Regions from separate parts of the Homo sapiens genome. Here region 2 is linked to region 1. The links are contacts of gene promoters, found by promoter capture Hi-C in human tissues and cell types (Jung and others, 2019). All regions are on one chromosome and are shown on one strand. The core of a region is centred on a gene start or on the middle of the fragment in contact, and the rest is flanking DNA. Distances in the headings are between cores, read along the strand shown. Region 1 holds the start of RNF169 (ring finger protein 169). Region 2 overlaps CHRDL2 (chordin like 2).

What was found. The method cuts DNA at HindIII sites, captures the fragments that hold promoters and counts their contacts. A contact is called where the count stands out against the background at its distance.
Region 2: a contact is called between a fragment that was not itself captured here and the fragment with the promoter of RNF169 in region 1, in 1 of the 25 tissues and cell types used here (H1 embryonic stem cells).

The regions. Positions count from the first base shown.
Region 1 is chr11:74,746,007-74,750,728 of GRCh38, forward strand. It overlaps RNF169 (ring finger protein 169), which reads left to right and starts at 2,843. Exons shown (of 6, transcript NM_001098638.2): 1 at 2,843-3,376. The coding sequence starts at 2,875. It also overlaps the pseudogene RPS12P22. RefSeq lists silencers at 2,674-2,894, 3,068-3,217, 3,248-3,507, 3,518-3,617 and enhancers at 2,868-2,957, 3,107-3,700. The HindIII fragment of the contact is 10,658 bases long and covers 1-4,722 here.
Region 2 is chr11:74,692,561-74,697,282 of GRCh38, forward strand. CHRDL2 (chordin like 2) reads right to left here. Exons shown (of 11, transcript NM_001278473.3): 10 at 4,645-4,722; 11 at 3,869-4,025. The coding sequence ends at 3,949. Among named protein-coding and RNA genes, the nearest start is that of MIR4696, 25 kb to the right of the region's middle. RefSeq lists an enhancer at 4,064-4,722. The HindIII fragment of the contact is 8,297 bases long and covers 1-4,722 here.

The DNA of each region.
Region 1 (4,722 bases), core at 1,593-4,092:
GCGAATTCCACGTGCTAGGCCATCGTGGATGAGGGCGGTCTTCAGCACCTCTTGTAAAGCAGTATTAACCTCCATTACACCTCCAGCAGCAATGCCTTCCTCGGCCATGGCAGTGGGTTACGGGTGAACCTGAATCTTGAACGCACCCAAGCCTCCGCCTCCGCGCGACTCGGCGGCAGGAGGGAAAGGGCGAGAACTGATGACTTTCAATACTCTTTTTTTTTTTCGAGATGGAGTCTTGCTCTGTCGCCCAGGCTGGAGAGCAGTGGTGCCATCTCGGCTTACTGCAACCTCCGCCTCCCGGGTTCACGCCATTCTCCTGCCTCAGCCTCCCGAGTAGCTAGGACTACAGGCGCCCGCCACCACGCCCGGCTAATTTTTTGTATTTTTAGTAGAGACGGGGTTTCACCGTGTTAGCCAGGATGGTCTTGGTCTCCTGACCTCGTGATCTGCCTGCCTCGGCCTCCCAGAGTGCTGGGATTACAGGCGTGAGCCACAGCACCAAGCCTTCAATACTCTTGTTTTAAAAATGAGGAGATTGAGGCCCAGAAGGAAGTTAGCTGTTTGAAATCACACAGTGAGTTAGAAGGGGCCAAGACCAACCCCAGATCTCCTGGCTTCTGGTCCAGTGCTACTCAGACCTCTTGCTTTTTCCCTCTGCTAAAGGAAATTTTCTATATTTATTTGTATCCAAGAAAGCATGCTATGTTTCTGTGGCTCAGCTCCTCCAACAGTAAACAGATTAAAAGATCCAAACCATCGAGAGTGAACAGCCTGCACAAATGGTCCCATTTCTAATGATGGTTGGCTTGATCTCTGGATCACAGATCTCCTTTGTCAGAATCCGGGAAAAATGTCCTCAAGAACCTTAAGTTGGGATGGAAGTGGGCAGGACCCATGGATAAAGGATAGCCTAGCCAAGGCCATACTTCTGTGTCTGGCAGGATTCTGTCTGGGTCTCTATGCAAACAGGTCTTTGTTTTAATCACCCATTGGCCTTTCTTCAACTCTTGACTGTCCTTTAGCCATCTGGTTCTTATCTTGGGAATCCATCACCTTTTTTTCCCCCTGCTCTCTGAGTTAATCAATCACTCGGCACTGGATTGGTTTACCGCTAGCTCTGGGCAATCTCATCAAAACCCAGGGCTTCTCATGCCTTCTATTATATTATGTTGATTTTTTTTTTTGAGACAATGTCTCATTCTGTTGTCCAGGTTGGAATGCAGTGGTGCCATCACGGCTCACTGCAGCCTTAACCTCATGGACTCCAGTGATCTTCCTGCCTCAGCCTCCTGAGTACAGGTGAGTGCCACCATGCCCAGCTAATTTCTGTATTTTTTGTAGAGATGGGGTTTCACCATGTTGCCCAGGCTGGTCTTTAACTCCTGAGCTCAAGCGATCTGCCTGCCTCATCCTCCCAAAGTGCAGGCGTGAGCCACCGCCCCCAGCCTATGTTGCTTTTTTATTTTTCTCTCTTTACAAAACTCGTGTTATCCTATAAAGGTTTCCACTAAGAAATGCCATTTATTTAATGCTTCCCATTCTTTGCCCTGCTCCAAATCTATCCCAGGGCAAAGAAAGCAAAGAATGGGAGAACTACTGTAGCAGAACCACCTTTCCATTAGAGAGGGGTCATTCTTTCTCCTGGAACCTCTGCATCTAGAAAGGGCACTAGCATCAAAGTCCAAGCACCTCTCCCTAGCTCAAGCAGGAGTGACACGGTCAGAGCTGGCCTATAGGAAGCAACTCGAAGAGTGTGGAGGATGGATTAGAAAAGAGGTTGGGAGAGGGGAGACAATCAATCTATAGCAGCTACTGCAGTAATCTAGATGAGAGATGATTAGACCTGAATTGGGCAGTGGGAATGGGATGAAGAGGTGGGGAAATAGTCATTTTGATAGTGGAATTGACAGGACTAAATAACTGATGGTTTGTGGGAGATAAGGAAGAAGTTCAAGATGACTAGGTTTGGAGCTTGAGTACCTGGGAGGATGGGACCTTTCATAGAATGAAGGAAATAAGAAGAGCAGTTTTGAAAGGAGGATGGGAGACAGTGACATTAGTTTTGTACATGAGGAATGTAGGGATCTAAGAGGATGTTTCCATCAGGCAGTTGAATATGGAGGGCTGGACTCAGGAGGCCTGGGCTGCAGACAGCAATCTGGGAGCTCCTGAGGGAAGAAAATGTGGACCAGTGCAGCACGCAGAGTGAGAAGGGGACTGAGGCCTAAGCCTAGAGGAACACCCACATGGAAGCACCAAACACGGGAGACTGAGAAGGAGCCAAGAGCCTGGGAAAAAAACCAGGAAAGTGTGGTTTTACCAGCCAAGGGGGGCAGTTTCAGGAAGGGACATGGGGAGAGAGGATGAGGAGGTAGGATTGACAAGAGGCTGCTCCTTTTGGCAGTTAGTTACCACGGTGGGCCTGGTTTCAGTCACAAAGCTACCCCCATCCTTAGGAGAGAGCTCAGGCCCTCATATCAAATGAACACTAAGGCAGGTTTCTGAGTAACTCACATATTCCCCACTCACTTTCTCCTCAGTTATCAAGGCATTACAGGATAAGTACGTGTATCAAAGTTTAACATCGTTCAGAATTGCCAGTAAAGCCCCTCAGTTCCCACCTCTTTCAGTTCAGTAAGAGGAAACTGCAAGGACTTTTCGAGAGTGCGGCTGATGACCGCATAATAAAGAATAACTAATAAATATTAATGAAGTATCCCCTCTGGCCAATCAGGTCTGAGGAGAACCCTCTTTGGGCTCACAGAAGCCTCGCCCCTCATGAATATGTAGATAGCACTGCCCACCGCGCGTACTGCCCCGCCCTCCACTCTTCTCCCTCGCAACCGACTCTCCCTTCAAACGGGAAACAAGATGGCGGCTGCAGGTCCGAGTACTCGGGCCTCTTCCGCGGCGGCAGCAGCCGCTCTGAGTCGGCGGGGCCGGCGGGGCCGCTGTGACGAGACGGCGGCAGCTAAGACTGGGGCCCCAGGCCCGGCTTCTGGACCTTCGCTGTTGGTGTTGTCGCCGCCGTTGCTGCAGCCGCCGCTGCCGCCGCGGCCGGAGGAATCGGGCTGCGCCGGGTGCCTGGAGCCCCCCGGAGAAGCAGCGGCCCTGCCGTGCGGCCACTCGCTTTGCCGAGGCTGCGCCCAACGCGCCGCCGACGCGGCGGGCCCGGGTTGCCCTCGCTGCCGCGCCCGCGGCCCAGGCTGGGCCCGCCGTCGGGCCCGCGACGACGGCCAGGCCGACTCAGAGGTGCTGGGCGAGTGCGCCCGCCGCAGCCAACCCGAGCGCTGCCGCCCGCGCCGGGACGGGGGCGCGGCTGCCGCGGGGCCCAGGCCAGAGCAGGAGCCGCGTGCCGCGCCTGCGGAGCCAGGTGGAGCTTCCCCACTTCCCCTTAGGGTCTGGAGCGAGGCCGAGCGCGCCCCGGCCCGGCCTGGTGAGGGGGTGGAGAGTCCCGGGCCCTACTCGGGCGGGTGTGGAGAGTTCTCGTGGGATTAGAACCCGGGCTCTACCCAGGTGCAGTGTGTTTGTGAATTTTGAACTTCAGAGTGAAGGACAGGCACGTTGCATGCGGAGGGGCGGTGAGGGCACCCTGTGCCTTACGTAAGTCCGAAGTTTGGAGGGAAACAGAATTGTTGGAACAAGTTAGGGGCAGGTTGGAATTGGTGTGTGGGAGTGGGAGGGGCCTTGGATCAGAGAAGTGCTTGGTTTAATGTTGGATGAAGAGTTTGGGGGTCATATTGCTTGGAGAGATGTGGCTCCTGGCCTTGAAAGGGTCAGTGAAGGGTGTGGAGAATCCGGAGTTTAGGGAACAGGTTGAATTTGAGGATGTGAAGGGAGCTTTTCAGACTCGAGAGCAGAGGGGGTTGGGAGCACACTTGTGCAGTTGTTTTCATACATTTTGGAAAATGTATGCTTAGCACAGAACTTGGCACATAGTGAGGAAGCAGTAAGTGACTGTCGTTTATATTTGTAATACTAGTACTACTAAGTCCAGTAGTGCCTGACAGAAAAGCTGGCTTGGGTTTAAAAGTTTTGGAAACAAAGGTTGGGTGGCAGGGGCTGCTTCTATCTCCTTGGCAGTATGGGTTTCCTACTGGCTTGCTGGCAATTAAAAGTCTGTTGTAGGACTCTTGCCTTGAACTTCTTTCCCCTAACACCAGCAGCCTGCTATTCCTCGGTTCTGAGCTTTGAAATGCAAAGTGCCCTGTATAAAATAAGACTGTTATAACTTAGGATTCTTTTGGGGACACACCCAGTCAACATAACATCTGCAGCTCTGTTTGATAAAAAATGCTTACCTAGAATGAGATTTTCAAGAAACATAAATCACGAAAGGCCAGATATTTGTACCTTCTGTTTTGGGAATTCTGCCATGTGTTTTTTTGGGTAAGGAAAGAGAGGCATTGCTTGTGTATACAAGTGCAGCTTCTAGAAACCACAGGTTCTAGAATGCACTCTGTTTTGATTCAAGCCGCCAGAGACACCTGTCACTGTCCTAGGATATTGGGCTATTTTATTCCTGGGGTTGAGGGGGACCTGCATCTTACTTTCTATGTTCCTTGTCACTCCCCTCACCTTTTTTTTTTTTTTTTTTTTTTTTTTTGAGATGGAGTCTCGCACTGTCGCCCGGGCTGGAGTGTAATGGTGCGATCTCCACTCACTGCAGCCTCTGTGCACCACCCCTTCAGGTTCAAGCGATTCTCCTGCCGCAGCCTC
Region 2 (4,722 bases), core at 1,949-4,448, 53 kb before region 1:
AATCCAACTGTCCATTTGTTATTGTGACCTTGGTGAGTGACCTTCTCTCCCTGGAGCCTTAGTTCCCTTGTCTGATATGGTTAACAAGCCCCACCTCACTGGGCTGTGCTAGGGATCAGATGAGACAATGGATTTGAATGTGCTTTGTTAACCAGTGGCCAGGAAGGATATCACTACCTCAGTGGGAGCTCTGGCGGTGCCCAGCCTGGCCACCAGTGGGACAGTGGATCCCATGGGACTCCCTGCTGGAGCCTTGGGGAGCCCCATGCGGGAGCAGGGCTGGTCAGCCCTGGGAGCCCCCCACTCCCCTCTCCCTCATCACACTCATGGGGAGATGAGTAGGGTTATGCAGCAGCTTAGAGGCCAAGGAAGAATGGATTTTAACCCATCCCTAAATCTTGCCTTCCTCCATCCTCACTCCTGTTTCTCCTGATTTTCCCTCTCTTGGGGCATCGCCTCGTCACCGAGACTTGCTCTCAGCCAAAAAGCTGTCTTCTTCAAGCCCATGTGCACAGCCAGCCACAGCCCTGCCTCTCTTCTTCTTTACTGCCAGCTTTCTTAAAATGCTTGTCTGTTTCCTCACTTCCCAGAAACCGTCTCAGCACCTAAAACTCAGCTCCCACCTCTCAGCTCTCCTGACTGTGCTCCCTGCTGTGGCCATTGGAGCCTCCTTGTTTCCACGAAGGTCTCTTTGCCAGCCTCACCCTGGCCCTCTCAGCACCCTGCTCCCCGACCTATTCCCTGTCCGCCATGCTGACCCTTTGCTGATGCTCTGGGGTCCGTCTTGCTCCCACTCTGTTTACTCCACCATCTCTCCCAGGCCAGTGTCACCCCCTCTCCCAGCTTTAGTTACCACCTACAGGTCAACAGCTCCCAACTCCCTGCCTCTAGCCCAGCTTTCTCTCCAGACCTATTAAACCCAGAGGGCTGTGGATACCTCCTGAGCCTCAGCGTGTGCTCAGCTGAAACTTCTGGCTTCTTCTCCCAGAAGGTATCACCAAGTGAGACACCAGGTACACACTTGCTCCTTGCTCTCCCTCAATCCTGAGTCTAGCCAGTCATCCGTTGTGCCTTGCCCATGACCTCTCTCCTATCCAGGCCAGAGTCATCCTCACGTGGATCCCATAACAGCCACCTCCTACCTGGCCTCAGCCTCACTCTGCCAGGCCATTCTTCACCTGGCCGGTAGAACCAGTGTTCTCAACCACAAATCTGACCAAAGTATTGAAACTCTCCTGGGGCTACCTGCTAGCCTTCAGGATGCAGTCAGAGCTCTTCAGCTAGCTGTGCAGCCTCACCTCCCTTTGCTCGTTGCCTCAAATTATCATCCAGTGACAGTGAGCTATTTGTGGTTCTGCCGTAACTTGCTACTTTTCACCGTCTACCAAGTTTTCTCTTCCTGTACCGTCACCCACCCTCCTCTCTCTCTCCCCCTTTTTTTTTCTACCTCCTGCTCACCTTCCGAGCCTGCTTGAGTGTCGTCAGTCTGGGTTGGGGCTGTGCCCCCTTGGTCCCTGCCCTTAGCACTGGCAACACTGAGGGGCTCGGATGCTGCTCCCTCCTCTATCTCCTCCTCCAGACTTGAGGCTCTAAAAGCACAGGAAGGGCAATTAGCTCCCTGCACTGTGTTGGTGCTCGAGCATAAAGCCCACCCGAGAGCAGCGCCGAAGCTGTTTTATGAATGAATCCATGAAAGAGAAGACAACATGGCAGAGCTGCCTGCAGACTCACATAGCGAGCCCATGTTTACACACACAGAAAGGTCTGGACCAAAGTCAGGAGAGGGCAGTGTGCTGAATGTGTCCCCCTGGTGGAAAAGCGAACCTCAGAGGCATCCCATAAGCCCATCAGAGAAACCAGGAAGGCAATTTGGCCTGCAGCATCAGGAAACGTGTACAGCGAAGTCCACTCCTGTCCGGAGACCCTGGAACTGCCTCTGATGACAGAGCCCTGTTTCCAAACCCCATTTTCCAGGAAAGGAGCCACGGTACAGGGCACAGATGTGTCAGGGAAAGTATCACTGAAGACATCTGAGATAGGCTGAAGGATGACCAGAGTTTATCCTGTGAATGGTTAAGCTTTCAGATTCCTGCACTTTAAATGAGGCAAGCTCAGAACCCATCCCTGGAGCTCCAAGTGAACCCTCTGTGTGAGCAAGCCAGGCCAAAATTGTGAGTCATCTTGAGGAGGGACAGGTAGAGGCTGTGAGGGGAGAAGGTGAATGTCTTCTGACTCAGGGGATGTTGGTAGATTCCAGCCTCAAACCCCAAACTTTCAAATCCAGACCCCTGGGAGCTGGCAGAGGAGTTAGGGGAGGGAGACACTCATCCCTGCTCAATAAGGGTGGCATCAGACTTCCCAAACCTTAGCAGACTTCCCAAACCTTAGTAACCCTAGGTTCAAGATTAGGGCTGTGGAGGCTGGGCTTAGTGGCTCATGCCTGTAATCTCACCACTTTGGGAGGCTGAGGCAGGAGGATTGCTTGAGCCCATTAGTTCTAGACCAGCCTGGGCAATATAGCAAGACCCCATCTCTTAAAAAAAAAAAACAAAAAAGGCCAAGGCTGTGGAGACAATGGCCAGAGCCCTCTGAGTGGCTGCACAAGTCCAGTCAACAGACTACTGTCCACCATTTCTCTGGAGCTTTGATCAGGCTTGGGTGGGGAGGGGATGGAGGAGCCGTGGTTGTGAGAGGATTGAGACTAGCTGTCCTGAGGAGAGAACCCCGCCTGGGGCCGGGAGCCTGAGTTCTAGCCCTGGCTTCAGCATACCACTGTGAGGCTTTGGGGAAGACATGTGGTGGTCCTGAGCCCATCTCCTCCTCTAAAATGTGGGTAGTGCCTACACCTTTCACCTTAAGTGAAATCATTGACATTAAAACATCTTTGAAATTATAAGGATTTGTACATGTGGGCAGGGTAAATAATTGATGGTGTCTTTATTTTATTATTATTATTATTATTATTATTTGAGATGGAGTCTTACTCTGTCACCCAGGCTGGAGTGCAGTGGCACAATCTCGGCTCACTGCAACCTCTGCCTCCTGGGTTCAAGCAATCCTCGTGCCTCAACTTCCCGAGTAGCTGGAATTACAGGTGTGTACCACCATGCCTGGCTAATTTTTTGTATTTTTAGTAGAAATGGGGTTTCACTATGTTGGCCAGGCTGGTCTCGAACTCCTGGCCTCAGACGATCCACCCCCCTCGGCCTCCCAAAGTGCTGGGATTGTAGGCGTCAGCCACCGTGCCTGGCCCTAATGGTGTCTTTAATTGCTAACTGTTGGGCCTTCTCAGAGCATGGTGCCAGGTTAGCAATCTGACCGCCCAGTCTTGGAAATCCTCTGAGGTGAGGCTATCTGGGCTCGTGACACTGGCCACACTGTGGAACTGGGGAAGGAGTGCTAGCCTGGAGCGAGAGATCTGGCTTCCAACTCCAGATCTGCTACTAAGCAGCTCTGCGGCTTTGGGCAAATGACTGCCTGCTGCTCCTCCCTAACTGGGTTTCCTCATTGTAGGGTGTGAAGACAGTGGTGAGGATCCCAGGAATACTTGCTGGGAAAGTGCTTTAAGGCTCCATTAACGCCCTCCCCTGGCTAATTAGAGTCATTCCTCTTTCTGAGGCTCAGTGTCAAAGAGCTGTGGGAGGGGGGCTGCCCGGAAAAGCAGGAGGTGCTGCAGTGGGGGGCCTGGGTGAGGAGGCTGGGGGAGCTAGCCCTGGCTGTGGTGACAACTCACTGTGAGGACTGGGACCATTCTCTATCCCTTCTGGATCTTGGTTTCCACCCCTGTAAAATGGGGATAACCAGGTCTGCCTTGTGGAGTTGCTAGGAGAGCATGCAGGAGACTGGATATGAACCCAGAAGGCAGGGCTGAGGGTAATGCAACTTCTTATTTATTAATATATAATAACAACAATTATACAGCTCATATCTGCAACTGTTAGGTCTTTGTTATGTCTTGGTCACTTTGTCTGGACTGGCCGTGACCTTCAGCTCCAGGGTCTGGGCTAGGAAGACGTTCCAGTGACCTGCATGGAGGAGGGCAGAAGAGGGAAGAGGCGTATGTGTCTGCACGTGCACAACAGAGGCAGCAGCTGGGGGTTGGAAAAGCCTTGGGCCAGGAGGAACTGCAAGGGCCAGGGTTTGGAGCCCACAGGGAGCCTGGAGGCGAGTGTGCCATCACACTGGGTGTGATGGGGCACATGACCCAGCTTTCAAACAACCTTGGGGGACAGAACTGGTTTCCTGACACCTGTTGGTAATACTCCCCTCTGTGACCTCCCCTCCCCGACCTGAAACCCCACCTGGGTCCATCTTCCTAAAAGTAAGGTATAGAAGGAAAGTGGAAACATTCCAGTAGAGAGGGAGTGGGCAGTACCCAGGTTTGGGGGCTCAGACCTCCCCTCTCCACAGCCCTTTCTCCCTCCACCCTCAGAACCAAATCCAGCCAGCTCTGCTTCACCTTCCCGCTCTGGAGTTAGGAAATCTCTGGCGCAGACACCCGCTGGATTCCTGTGCTGGGAACTGACGTCTGTGGCTGACAGCCCCTCCTCCCGGCACCAGCAGCCTGGGAACTCCCCGAAAGGCTCTGGCCCGTGTCCTTGCCTTCTTCCTGCCCCGGCCCCATTCCTCAGCCCAAGCTCCTACCTTCGTGGGGGCCAGCGAGCAGTCGGAAGTGCTGTGCCTCTTTCTGGAAGTCTTGCTTCCTGACTTTCTTGATCTGAG